Regions from separate parts of the Homo sapiens genome. Here all the other regions are linked to region 4. Evidence: promoter capture Hi-C in 16 types of primary human blood cells and fetal thymus (Javierre and others, 2016). All regions are on one chromosome and are shown on one strand. The core of a region is centred on a gene start or on the middle of the fragment in contact, and the rest is flanking DNA. Distances in the headings are between cores, read along the strand shown.

Evidence for each region. The method cuts DNA at HindIII sites, captures the fragments that hold promoters and counts their contacts. A CHiCAGO score of 5 or more calls a contact.
Region 1: a contact is called between a fragment that was not itself captured here and the fragment with the promoter of MIRLET7IHG in region 4, in 2 of 17 cell types (activated CD4 T cells and non-activated CD4 T cells). The highest score is 9.9, in activated CD4 T cells.
Region 2: the fragment with the promoter of CCT2 here is called in contact with the fragment with the promoter of MIRLET7IHG in region 4 in 2 of 17 cell types (total B cells and total CD8 T cells); the score reaches 8.3 in total B cells.
Region 3: the fragment with the promoter of CNOT2 here is called in contact with the fragment with the promoter of MIRLET7IHG in region 4 in 1 of 17 cell types (total CD8 T cells); the score reaches 5.0 in total CD8 T cells.

Annotation. Positions count from the first base shown.
Region 1 is chr12:69,741,717-69,744,922 of GRCh38, reverse strand. The region is part of intron 1 of RAB3IP (RAB3A interacting protein); the gene reads right to left. Among named protein-coding and RNA genes, the nearest start is that of RAB3IP, 4.5 kb to the right of the region's middle. The HindIII fragment of the contact is 1,122 bases long and covers 975-2,096 here.
Region 2 is chr12:69,583,989-69,587,354 of GRCh38, reverse strand. CCT2 (chaperonin containing TCP1 subunit 2) reads right to left here and starts at 1,896. Exons shown (of 16, transcript NM_006431.3): 1 at 1,831-1,896; 2 at 1,011-1,085; 3 at 537-602. The coding sequence starts at 1,833. It overlaps MIR3913-1 (microRNA 3913-1), which reads left to right and starts at 2,532; the gene lies at 2,532-2,633. It overlaps MIR3913-2 (microRNA 3913-2), which reads right to left and starts at 2,632; the gene lies at 2,533-2,632. RefSeq lists an enhancer at 1,526-1,865. The HindIII fragment of the contact is 2,214 bases long and covers 1,223-3,366 here.
Region 3 is chr12:70,241,560-70,244,788 of GRCh38, reverse strand. CNOT2 (CCR4-NOT transcription complex subunit 2) reads right to left here and starts at 1,356. Exons shown (of 16, transcript NM_014515.7): 1 at 1,309-1,356. PRANCR (progenitor renewal associated non-coding RNA) reads left to right here and starts at 1,429. Exons shown (of 5, transcript NR_120460.1): 1 at 1,429-1,477; 2 at 1,896-1,965; 3 at 2,560-2,608. RefSeq lists enhancers at 627-766, 1,497-1,696, 871-2,070 and silencers at 1,067-1,326, 1,398-1,937. The HindIII fragment of the contact is 4,785 bases long and covers 596-3,229 here.
Region 4 is chr12:62,600,778-62,604,154 of GRCh38, reverse strand. MIRLET7IHG (MIRLET7I host gene) reads right to left here and starts at 1,412. Exons shown (of 2, transcript NR_186001.1): 1 at 1,320-1,412. LINC01465 (long intergenic non-protein coding RNA 1465) reads left to right here and starts at 721. Exons shown (of 1, transcript NR_121682.1): 1 at 721-2,404. It overlaps MIRLET7I (microRNA let-7i), which reads right to left and starts at 469; the gene lies at 386-469. RefSeq lists enhancers at 29-550, 551-1,072, 1,179-1,368, 1,449-1,558, 1,073-1,594 and 1 more and silencers at 399-698, 789-1,098. The HindIII fragment of the contact is 3,704 bases long and covers 1-1,781 here.

The sequences.
Region 1 (3,206 bases), core at 286-2,785, 7.1 Mb before region 4:
TTTCATAATAATTTTAAAGTTGGCTTCCCAAACTAGCATTTTAGTTATGACAAAAAAAATCACATTTATCTTTTAAGAAGCATTCTATGTTTATAAATGCAAATGTAATTAATAGCCCAAGGGCAAAATTACTCAAATGGTCAATCAGGCTACACAATTTTCCCATTTTTATTATAATAGATCACAAATGAATTCCCACTAATTCCACAATACTTTTTTTTTTTTTTTTTTGAGATGCAGTCTCGCTCTGTCGCCCAGGCTGGAGTGCAGTGGCACAATCTCGGCTCACTGCAACATCTGTCTCCTGAATAGCTGGGATTACAGGCGCCTGCCACCACACCCAGCTAATTTTTTGTATTTTTAGTAGAGATGGGGTTTTGCCATGTTGACCAGGCTTGTCTCGAACTCCTGACCTCAAGTAACTGTCTGCCTCAACCTCCCAAGTGCTGGGACTACAGGTGTGAGCCACCATGCCCGGCCTAATTCCACAACACTTCAATGTACAACCTGACATGTGTAGAGATGTTAGTTATTGCAGTGTGTTATGTTGACAGTTTTCAGAAAATGTTCTGAACTTATGAGCTAATATTATATTTAATTACAAATAATTATTTGTAATAATACAATGAGCTAATATTTAATTACAAATATTTATTTGTAATTAAATATTTATTTAAATTAACAGAACACCGCATGTTCTCACTCATAAGTGGGAGATGAACAATGAGAACACACGGACACAGGGAGGGGAATATCACACACCAGGGCCTGTGGGGGAGTGGCGGGCTAGGGGAGGGATAGCATTAGGAGAAATACCTAAGGTAGATGATGGGTTGACCGGTGCAGCAAACCACCATGGCACGTGTATACCTATGTAACAAACCTGCACATTCTGCACATGTATCCCAGAACTTAAAAGTATAATTTTTTAAAAAAATCATTTTCCAAATTTCTTTTTCTCAATAATGGAAGCTTCATTTTACATATTCTCTTAAGAATATATGCCAACTAAACATTCAACAGGTGCTGAAATACGCACTGACTAAATAAATAAACAAGAGTCTTTAGAGAAGGAATGAATAGCAAAGCGGTAAAGAGTGGAGACAGTTATTCAGGCTACATTTTTGCTGAAAAAGATAGAAATGAAACAGTAAATACTTTGCGAGAGTATCAAAACTGGAGAAATTGAAGTTTGAGAAAACCTGAGCATTTTAACAGACTAACTTCAGAAAACCTTCCTTCTAGTTCAGATTCTGTCACTGACAAGCTGTGTGAACTGACGCAAGTCATTTAATCTCTCTAAGGTTCAGTTTTGACATCTATAATGGTAGTGATATTATCTCCCCTGCCTACATTTGAGAAAATCAAATGGCATATCAATGTAAAAATGTATACATTGTAAAGCACAACATAAATGTATGATTTTATAAAGATCTAAGAAAGAAAAAAATGTAATGGGGGAAATAGCAAAAGCATACTGAGGGGTTTGTCTTACAAATCAGAAGGTATCTTTATTTATCTTAGGTAAAAGGAAAGAAAGGGAAAACTAGTCTTTATGAGGCATGTAGTTCAAATATGATTCTTTTCCCCACAGGGAATTGATACAAATTTGCTTATTGTTTTTTCAAACTTATTTTGGTTTTTCTTTTATACTTTATCCTTATCTGACAACCAGATGCTCCCAAACAAATATTCAATACTATTACTTTTATCTGGGCATATCAAATTACAATTCACTTATTTAAGTGGTTCTAAGCTATCATCTATATGCTCCTTTATGCTCATAGGGCATTCTCACATTCTTGAATAGTTTCTTCATACTAAGCTGTCAATTCATATACTTATTTGTGTATGTATCCATACCCCTCAGAGGAATTTCATCAACTGCCATTATGATTATATTTACAATCCTACTGTTAACGACAAGCATCAAATCTTTCATGAACTTGAACTATTTGAATAATTTTCATTCTTTTTCCTCTAAGTAATATCAGTTTACGGCTATAGTTATCTAATTTCGTGTTGCCCTATATTCTAAGATAAATCAGATTACTTTTTCCACTTTTCTCTAACCATGACTATGTACGATGTAAGCTTATAAAACTACCTCATTTAGTGGTAAGTTGAAAAGGAAAGCAGAAGGGAAAATAGAGATAGCAAGTTAATGCTCCCAGTTGTATAAATATCTTCCTCTTCCTTCCTTTGTCCCTTCATTTCTCAATGTTCATTTCAATTTCTACTGCTAGAGCAGCTTCAAAACATCCTAACATTCTTCAACTGATCATCCATCACCAAACACAGCACAGTACTTACCTGGCCCGATGTTAAAGCTATAAAATGAGGTAAGCCCTACTCTCGAAGCACTTGTAGACTAGAGGAAGAGACCACCTTGCCAATAAACATGTTTCTAGGGCCCTAGAAACAATTACAAATACAACACAAATATCAAAGTTCATAAATACCAAAAAAGAGGTACTCAGTATTATAAAAGCATAAAATTTTTAAAAAGAGTACCATCTGGTACAACTAAGGATAGTAGCATAAAAAAGGAGAAACAAGCTAGAAAGCAGTTTACAAAAGCTCAGATATTTTGTTTTTAGGATATCAAATGCGTAGTAACCAATTTACTATCCTTTGATGAACTGCATCTTAATCAGAATTATATCGGAAAAAAGTTTAGTGTGAAAAAGCGTACTCCCTTGGAATATCTTCAAAGCTTTCCCTCATTACCTCAATGCACAAATATCTCTACCCACTATCCATCTGTCCTTCCTCTCCACTACTCAACTATCCTAGCACTTTGTCTTAGTTGACATTCATTAAAATATGTAAAGTGCGTTCTACATTTTGAAGAACTTATAAAAGATATGGGAATGATTATAAGGCCCTACCTTCCATATTCCTTAAGAACAGTTTCCTTTAACCCCTACTGTGACTTGCAGAGTAGATGCTCAATGAGTATTTGATTTAAAAAAATCTCTGGTGACACAATGAGAATTACATATTACATTAACATTACGTATCTCATAAAAGCTAAATTACAAAGTTCTTCAGCATTATAAGCTACACATAAAGAAGTGATAATGTAGTGATTATGAGCAAACAATTCTTTAGCATTACCACTTATACATGAAGAAATGACAGAGTGTAGTGGTTAAGAGCACAGACATGGAAGACAAACTGTCTGACATCTAATCTAGACCTGT
Region 2 (3,366 bases), core at 647-3,146, 7.0 Mb before region 4:
CACGTAACCAAACCATGTATCTACCCCTAGAAACACTAGAAGCACAGGTAGACACTAGTTTTTGTTTCAACACCGTAACTGCAAAAACAATGGAAAGAAACTATCAATACAGCCATAATTAAATTATAAAATAATTAAGGTACAGGATAATATTTGACAGTTAAAGGGGCAGTGTTATCTACTTACACTGAAAGGAATTTAAAAGAGCAAGCTACAAAAAAGTATTGATAAATAGTATCTGTTTTATAAAACAGTATGTTACATGAGTATAAAATACATAATGAAGTACACATACTTCTACATAAACAGAATATTAGAAGATGTACGTGCAAATGATAACAGTACTTGTCATTGGGGAGGGGCATGGGATTGGGGATGGTGATTCTGGGGACTCTGATTTTTACTAAGGAGAACATACTTGTCTTTTATAATTAAACGTTTTAAAGATTAAAAAGCATTTTAATACGCTTGTTATTATATTTCCACCAAGCGCTCTAAAACAATATTAAAATATAAAACTTTTCTATTTTTCTTACCATGCCTTTGGGTCCCAAGGTGCTCTTTACCAAGTCTCCAATGGCGATGGCACCAATAAAAGAAGTCTGGAGTAAAAACCAAGGAGATTATCAGAATCAACTTTACAGTCTTCAAGTACAGTTTTATCTTTATTTACTTTTTTTTTTTTTTGAGGCAGAGTGTCGCTCTGTCGCCCAGGCTGGAGTGCAATGGCGCGATCTCAGCTCACTGCAACCTCCGCCTCCTGGGTTCAAGCGATCCTCCTGCCTCAGCCTCCCGAGTAGCTGGGATTACAGGTGCCCATCACCACGCCCGGCTAATTTTTGTATTTCTAGTAGAAACGGGGTTTTACCATGTTGGCCAGGCTGGTCTCGAACTCCTGACCTCAGTTCATCCGCCTACCTCGGCCTCCCAAAGTACTGGGATTACAGGAGTAAGCCACCGCGCCTGGCCTCCAGTTTTATCTTTAAAACAATGCTTAGAACAAGGCTTACCAGACGAGCTGTCTCTGCTCTCTCTTCATCAGCTCCTGCCTTAAAGATGTTAACAGGTGCAAGGGAAAGGGACGCCTGAAAAGGAAAACCAAGAGGCATTCCGTTTAAGTACCAATACTCTAACACATACACTGAGGTGCCTTCCACTAGTCTTACAAGTGGACATCTAAGAGAAAACTCATTTACAACAATGTTTTCAATCAAATGAAGCTTCCATCATCGGAGAAAGCATTTAAGTGGGAGAGAGGGACTTGTAGGAGAGCGACATGGCTTTTCGGATTTACAAGGCCCCCGGGAGTATAAATTATACACCAGCGAGATTGACAGTTACGTACAGCGAGACTAAAGACGATCTTGAACTAAGAATGAGGCAGGGAGGGGTTGCAGGCCATCAAGGTGACGCCTGCCGGGCGGGCGAGGGAACGCGGCCTCCATCTTCCACCCTCGGAAGGCTGCGGCCCCTCCACCCTCTGATGGCTCAGACCCCGTCGCTCCAGGCTCCGCCCCTAGAAGGAGGGCGGAGCGGGTCCCACACTAGAAATTTCTTCGCTCCGGGTGAGGCGCGGACCTGGGCTGCCGGGACTATGCAAAGACCTAGGCACAAGGAGACGCTGGCTTTGCGGTCCACCCCTCCCCCTCGTGGTGAGCTCCACCGGCTGGCCTGGCGCAGGCCGCACGCCCCGCGCATGGCTCGCACCATGTGCGGAGGGCCGGGGAGACAGAAACGGAGCCTACGACCCTAGCAGGACAGAGGAAGCAGTGGGGTGGCAAGAGCACGGCGGAGCAGGGGTAGGGCAAGAGGCAGGGGAGTCAGGCTCACCATGGTTCCGAGGAGTTCCGCACACAAGTGAATCCCCTCACAGCTCGTGCTCGGGACCAGCGGACTGAAGGAAGCCGGAAGTGACGCCACACGCCCTACTTCGGGGGGCGGGGCCCCGGCCTGTCGTTACCGCCAGCAGGCGTCCCATTTTGATTGGAGCCCCACGGGCCGGAAACGCAGCCTTTCACACTGGAGGGGGCGTGGCCGCCGCTCCAGAACAAAGAGGCGGCTGCCGCGCGGGTTGCCATAGAAATGGAGTTCTTGCTCACACTTTTTATTTTCTTAAATTTAATCTTTAAACACTTCTATTAAAGTCACACATGTACACAGTTTAAAGTGTTATATACCAATAAGGAAAAACATAATTTATCTGCCTCACCACTTCCTGTCTCCAGGAAAACTGCTTTCAACTTTTTCAGTTTTTTGGAGGGGCTATTTACTATCATATTCCCAGATAATATTATTGCTATGTTAATTTTAAACATTATTTACTGAGTATTACAGAAGAAGACTTCCTTTTCTCTTACTGAATTTTCAGACGTTATTTCTAACTGGACGTTGACTGCCCAGGATAAGGTCTTGTGAACTGAGAGAGACATTTATAGTATTTTATCTTTGCCCTATTTACTCATTTTCAGGAATTTTTGCATTTCGGTCTTTTTTTTTTTTTTCCTCCAATAGTAGAGACGACTTATTAGTCTTTGTTTATAATAAACTGAAATATTTGGGACTGATCTTGATGTCTGCCAAAACCTTGGCAGACATCAAGATCAGTCCCAAATATTTCAGTTTATTATAGACAGTTTTCTACTTTCTCTAAGTTGACGGATGTCTAAAAATTTGTTCTCTAAAAAATTTTTCTGTCATCTACTGATACCCTCTTTTCTCCCTTTGACTAACTGATCGCTTAAGCTCCTCGGCAGGGCGCGGTGGCTCACCCCTGTAATCCCAGCACTTTGGGAGGCCGAGGTGGGCGGATCACCTGAGGTCAGGAGTTGGAGACCAGCCTGGCCAACATGGTGAAACCCTGTCTCTACTGAAAATACAAAAATTAGCCGGGCGTGGTGTGCATGCCCGTAATCCCAGCTACTCAGGAGGCTGAGGCAGGATAATTGCTTGAACCCGGGAGGCAGAGGTTTCAGTGAGCCGAGATCACGCCGCTGCACTCCAGCCTGGGCAACAGAGCGAGACTCTGTCTCAAAACAAAAACAAAACAAAACAAGCTCCTGGATTTTTCTTTTTCTGTTTTGTTTTTTTTAGAGATGGGGTCTTCTATGTTGCCCAGGCTGGCCTGGAACTCCTGGGCTCAAGCAATCTTCCTGCCTTGGTCTCCTGAGTAGCTGGGGTCTCCTGGATTTTTGACATTGCTAACATTAACAGGAATTTTCAATTTTTTAGTTGTTTCTACCCTTCAGATTTCCTCTAAGTGGGTTGATTTCCACCAGGGGTTGGCAAGCTGTGAGGAGTCAAACCCAGCCTGCCAGTTGTTTTTTGTATGGCCTGAGAGCTAAGAATAGTTTTTACATTTTTAAGTGG
Region 3 (3,229 bases), core at 107-2,606, 7.6 Mb before region 4:
AACTGAGTACTTTTTACCATTTCGCCAAGAACTAAGGGTTCAAAGCAGTGTACTTAATTATGAGGAATTGCCCAAACGATTTTAAAAGGAGTGGGATTCTCTGACCAAGACTTTTATGAAAATGAAACAAAATATGTTGCACTCAGTCTTCCGGATGTTGAAAAGTGAAGATGTCTCCAAGGATTCGAAGGAAGTTGATGTTTAGGTTCCCTCTGAGAGGGTGGTACCCTTAATGTAAGACTTTTGTGGTAGTAATACCGTACCTACAGGCCTGGAATAAATATAAGGTCTAAAACCTTGGAAATACTTTGTATAAAAGAAAACTCCAATTCTCTTTTGCTAAGGACCACAGTTACCAAGAGTTATCAGCTTTCACCCGGACAGACAACAGTGCTTCAATGAAGAACTACAAAGGCCTCTTTTAACCCTACTCTTTTCTTCTGTTAAACTTTTAAGCGAGACCTACGACAGCAAAAGGTGGAGAGGCCCCTGCGGAAGTAGAAACCCAGGACTTGCAACTTCACAGACAGAAGCGTCTGTGGTTCCTCCGCCGCCCCAGGATCATCCGGACTCAGTCTACGACACTACGGAAGCTTCACCTTCCTGGTGCGGTGGCAGAGGCGGCATCGCAGTTGCATTCCTTCTCCCTCCACCATGCACAGCCTTCGGTATCCCAGGGCCTGCAGGATCCTGACACCCGTTAGCCAGTCCAGTGTCTCCCATCTGACACTTGCAAACACACTAACAGAAATACACATAACTGGCAGATGATATACGTGTATTGAGAGAAGGTAAGAAGCCACAGACAGCACCAGCTGCCGGGAAGGCGGCAGAGCCGTCTAAAGCGGGCTCGAGCTCGTCGGCCACGGCCACGGCCGCTGCCGCCTTCTCTTCTCCCCCAGGAAGCAGCGCGGCGGCAGCGGCTCCTCCGCGCTGGCGGGAGCCTAGGGGAGTGGAGTCTGGGGAAGCCCCACCACTCGCGGATGGGACCGGGCCTAGGATCTGGAGCTGCTGCTGCTGCAGCGGCCCGAGTACAGCGACGCTTTACGTCCGGTCCACCACCACCCCCATACACACCCCCTCCCTCCCTCCACCGCCGCCACCCCCCTCCCCGCCCGCTCCGCTCTCCGTCTCTCGATTGGAGCCGAGACAAAAGCAACGGGAAGCGGTGGGCCGGGACGCTACCGGCGGACCCTGGGCGCGACCGGACCGGCCCCGGGGCATTCCCCCGCCTTGCGGGGGCCCCGAATCTGCCGCCCCCGCCGCGCGCCCCGCTGCCAGACTTCCGAAAATTTACCAAAAACTCACCGCATGAATTTTCTTGTCCCGCGGATCCAAGATGGCGACGTATCCACCGCGGAGGCTGCTGGGAGCAAGACCTTTACCCTCTGACCGCCGCCGTGACCCCCGTCGCTCCGGCTTCCCTCCAGGCGGCAGCGGAAGGTGGGAGCGACGACTGCAAAACGGCAGCGATGGGGTGGGTAGGCAGGCCGCTTTCAGCGCGCTTCTAACAAGGTGGAGAGAGGCGCTTCACTTCCCTACCGCCCTTACCGCCGCTCCGTCTTGTCTCCCACCGACTCACAGGGAGGCTTGCTGCTCCTCCGCGGCCGTTACAGAGAGCGGGGCTTCTGCGGCCGCTACCGTTTCCCTGGGGCTAGGTTGCTTCGCAGAAGGCTCTGGCCCTGAGTCCGAGGGGGACTGCGGGGTCCAGGGGCGATGAATGGTGAGGTGGCTTCAGTCCGCCCTCCCCGGGGACGCTGAGCGTGTTCGTGTTCGTGTTTGTGTTTGTGTTTGTGTTGGACACCCCCGCCCCCGCACGTCCGCCTCGTCACTCCTCCCCTCCTCACTCCCGCCACCTGGAGCGAATCTGATCGTGTCCCTGTTTCCTCCCTCAGCTCCCGCAACCTCCGGAGCTTGTGCGCGTACTTCAGGGACCGGCACCACGTCACCGTCACCTCCTGAGTAGTGAGTTCCCCTCTGATGAAACCACTGGTGTGTTTACTCACCATCCCCACCATTTTTTTTTCCCCAACCTGATGGAAGGAAGTACATAATGGAGAGCAAGTTTTTAAAGCACGGTCGTGTCGTGTGAACTTGCTCTAGCCAAATTAGGTTTATAGCACTTTTTTTGGCTCTCATTACCTCCAGTCCCCACATAAACAAGAGTGACCAGCTGGGTCATCCGCAAGACCGTTTGAAATTATTGTGGCTTGGGTGGAAACTTAAAGGAGTGAAGTATCTGCTTTCCAGAAAAATCGTTGTCATTCAAAGTGAAATTAAACTTGTTTTCTTTGCAATAATTCGCCTTTATTTCCTTGTATATCTGTAAACTCTTCACTTTTTTGTAATTACTAGACAATTCGGACTTAAAAAGAGCCTCAGCATGTGTATTTTGGAATTGTGTAGCTTCATAATGTGAAAATTATTCTTTTCTATTTGAGTAAAGTACAGTTAATTTGAAGTAAATAAAATTTCTATTTCCATTGGTTGTTTCTTTTAAAAAGTCACCTTTTACTTACAAAAGAATCACTGTAATCCAGTTTACATTTATCATTGAAGGTCAAAAGCAAGAAATAGGAAGAAACACAAGCATACTATAAAATAAAAGGTAACTGTCATGTTTTTGAAGGTAAGGTGTTTTGACATATCAGCAGACATTGTGTGAATTTATTTCAACTCCTAGTGGTACTGGTGTAGGTAGAAAATGTTTTGCTTGGTTATTCATTTCATCAAACACTCTACTTCACTGTTTTTTTTTCACTTCAGGAAAATTCGAGGAGGAACAACACATACTAGTGTCTTTCCTTTCTTTCTCCCCGTCTTCTGCAAATAGTCCCTTCCTCTTCCTGCTTTCTCCTCCTTCTCATGTTAACATCTTCAACCATAAGATGGTGTGTTAAAAGATTGAATATACCTCTATGGAATGACTTCCAGAGGGTGTAAGTCTGATATGAGAGTTTTATTACCTTGAGTATTTTACTGGAAGAGATAGAACAACAAACATTTTCATAATAAATGTGTGGGTTAGGAGTGTTAGGAGAAAATACACTGATACTATTACTTTCAATATTTGATACTACTTACTTTGACTCTCACTGAACACCTATTTGTTTAGGATGAATTCACTTTAAGCCGGGTTGAAGAACAAGCCTTTAATTGTCCTATTATTTGTGCCAAATCTATTATAAATTTGTTAAAAAATTTTTAATACCTACCTTAGAGGGTACTC
Region 4 (3,377 bases), core at 163-2,662:
CAGTTCTGCAGATCGCTCACACCACTCCAACCTACAGCTAAAGAATGAAGTAAAACAGGTACACACTAAATTTGGCATTTAACTGCTGAAAGAAGTGTTAGAATTTTTTAGGGTGAAAAAGTTATCTGTATCAATTATCTTACACAATTCCACTCCTTCCTTCAAGAAAAGGAATCCAATGGCTTAGCTCTTTCCCAACCTTTAAAATGCATCGCGGTCCACCCCACTCCCCTCAATTCCTTCTAGGAAAATGTGAAACTAACGGTTTCCGTGGTGGCCGCGCCGGCCGGGCGCCGAGGCTTCGCGGGCTGTCCCCAGGCAGCGCCCCGGAAAACAAAGGGGATTCCCAGCCATTGTCCTCCGCGGCGCTGAGCATCACCAGCACTAGCAAGGCAGTAGCTTGCGCAGTTATCTCCACAGCGGGCAATGTCACAACCCGACCAACAGCACAAACTACTACCTCAGCCAGGGCCATGGTGTCGGGGAGGCACGGGACCACGCGGAGGGCAGCAAAGCGGCTCCGGCGCTCCTCCGTCCTTCCTCGCCGCCGACGTCGGCCCGCCGCCCCTTCTTTTCCTTTGCCTTCCCCCCGCGCCGCGCCCGGAGACCCCGCCCAGCACCCAGCGGCTCGGCTACTCCCGGCGCGCCCCGAGAGCTACGGGGATGAGAGGCGGCGCCGGCGCCCGGGTGATACAGCCGGCGTTCTGTACGTCAGCCACCGCTCTGAAGAGAGAAAAGCGGCGGTGTCCTGCGGAGAGAGCCGCTCCCTCCACTGCCCGAGGGGAGCGCGTCGCCTCAGCCGCTCGAAAGCAGGAAATGGGCGGCAAAAGCGCAGTCAGACACCAACTGGTTCTGGACTGCCCCCGAGAGGCAGCGAGCAGCGCTCCCGCGCTTCGCCCGCTAGGAGCTGCCGCCACGTCCCGAGCTGCGCCGCTCGCGCCCCTCCCTGCTCCGAGTCCCCGGTGGGGGCTGGGCTGCGGCCGAGTCCGGTACCCGGGCCCCCACCCGCGCCGCGCTGTCGAACCCGCCGCCGGCCCGCTCTCGGCGCCGATAATCGCCGGCGGGCATCCCGCAGAGGCTGCCGCCGGCTCCGCCAAACAGCAGCCAAGGCATAGCCGGGAAGTCCCCAGGCCACCCGTTCCCCAGCACCCTTCGGGGAATTCCCGTTCAGCTCTACAGGAGGCGAAAACGGAACAAACGAAAACCCCTTAACAGTGAAACCGGGCCCGGCGATGGCCCGGGTGGCGACTGCGACGACTCGACGCGTGCGGACACAAGACCCGTCTCGCGCTCCGCTGCTCCTGTGCGTCCGGACGAACCTTAGAGATCACTTAAGGAGGCTCGCGCGCTACTCCTCACCACGTGACCGCCCCGCCAGGCCGCCCCCCGCGCCGCCATCTTACATCCGGGACAGAGGCGGCGTCCCCTTTCCCTGCCTTGGCAGGCGTCAGCGTGCTACCAGAAATCAGCCCTGAAAGAGGGGACCCCGATTCCACGTCACCAGAGTGCTGAGGCAGCGGGCGATGCCCTCCATCGGCTCAGCGGGGGGGAGTGGAGTCCCAAACTTTTTTCGGCCTTTGCCCGCAAAGAAGATGGCGGCGCATATCGCCGCCTAAGCGGACACGTTGTACCCTGGCCGTGGTTTGAAGTTTCCGGCACCTCCTTTCCCAACCAGCAAGGACACAACCATACGAGCCCCACCCACGCGGGGTGGCTGCCGTGCTACATTCCGCAGAAAACAGGCGGGAAAGCTGCGGCACAGCCCGCTTTAAACGCAAGCTTTTGGGACTTCTGGTTTTGGCTTTTTCTTTTTAAGCCAAGTTAGGGAGAAGGCTGACTGCCATGGAGCCACTTCTGCTTTTGGCCCAGACAACTTACGGGATTTTTTTTTTCCTCCCATTTAGAGATTTTTTGTAGGAAGTTAACAAATTATTTTAAAGAAGTAGTTAGGGCTTGTCAGATAAAATACAGGACGCCCAGTTAAATTGGAATTTCAGATAACCAGTGTTTTGGCATATGTGTGTTACATATATTTTTAAAATTGTTTATCTGATATTCCAATTTAACTGCACATTCTCAATTTTTAATGACTGTATCTGGCAACCCTATCAGCCTTTACCCCTGAAAATCCAGACTGCTTATGACAAAAGTAAGGAATGGAGGGAAATGAAAAGCATGTTTACCTACAACTTAGAATTGTCTTTGCCCAGACTTTGATCCTTCATGGAGGCCAGAGGGCCGTGGTCTAGAACAAAATTTGGCAGCAACTCATAAAGATATCCTTGTATAATTCCCTTTCTGGCAAAGTAAGATTTTTTTTTTCTTAAGCTATCACGATGTAATTTTGGACAACAGATCCTCTTGGCCAAGAGTTTAATTGCAAATTAAAAATTAAATAACTGGCTTTTTGTTTCTATTCTACATGGTATAGGCGATGGGACCCAAACAATTTCTTAAAGTAGAAGTTTTCAAGTTAAAAATCAGCCTGCCTGACATATTTCATAAGAACATTTTTAGGTGCATATTCAGAAACTATTTCCAATTAAGAATATTTGTGTAAACATAATACATTTGCAGTTAAATGCTTTACCTGACAAAGCATAAACTCACCTATCAATCACTAAGCATAAACTCAAAGCAAAAACTCAATCACACCATAAACTCATCTATCAATCACTTACCAGAAAGTCTGTAGAAACTTCACACCATCCTTCCTTGATAAGCAAAGATTGGACTGCCATGGGAATCAACCCTCACTGCTCATTGACTGCGCAGTGGATCAGATTATTCTGTACCAAAGCAAATGTCCTTTGCCATAATGGCACAGATTTTTAAATGGCCACTAAACACCTGTTTGGTCTATGGTATACAGATTTGTTACAGCAGTAGTTTCCAACTAAATTTAGTCATTATACTACTTTATCACTTACATTCCTTTCCATAATGTTTTTAACAGTGCTAACACCAATATACTCATCATCCACATATAATGTACTGTTACCATCAACTTTTTCTCCCCCCTCCCTGCATATCAGGAATCTTAAGTATCCTTTCTGAATATGACCACCGTTAATCAATTCTTTATCATCACCTCATAGCAAGAAAATTGCAACAGCTTTCTAGCTTAGCTTTCCATACTGTATATATCCTATCCTGCTTATGATTGCAAGTTTATCTTCCTTGGTTTTATAATTTATTCTTAAATCACTCCAGACCCTGCCATCTCAAATCTAAACTACTCTCCTTGGCTTTCAAGGAATTTTATGAAGGGACCCAATCCTTCACAACCAACCTTGTTTCACACAATACACCAAAATGCACTGTTTTCTATTTCACAGATATGCCTTGCTCACATTATCTTGCCTGAAATCCCTCCG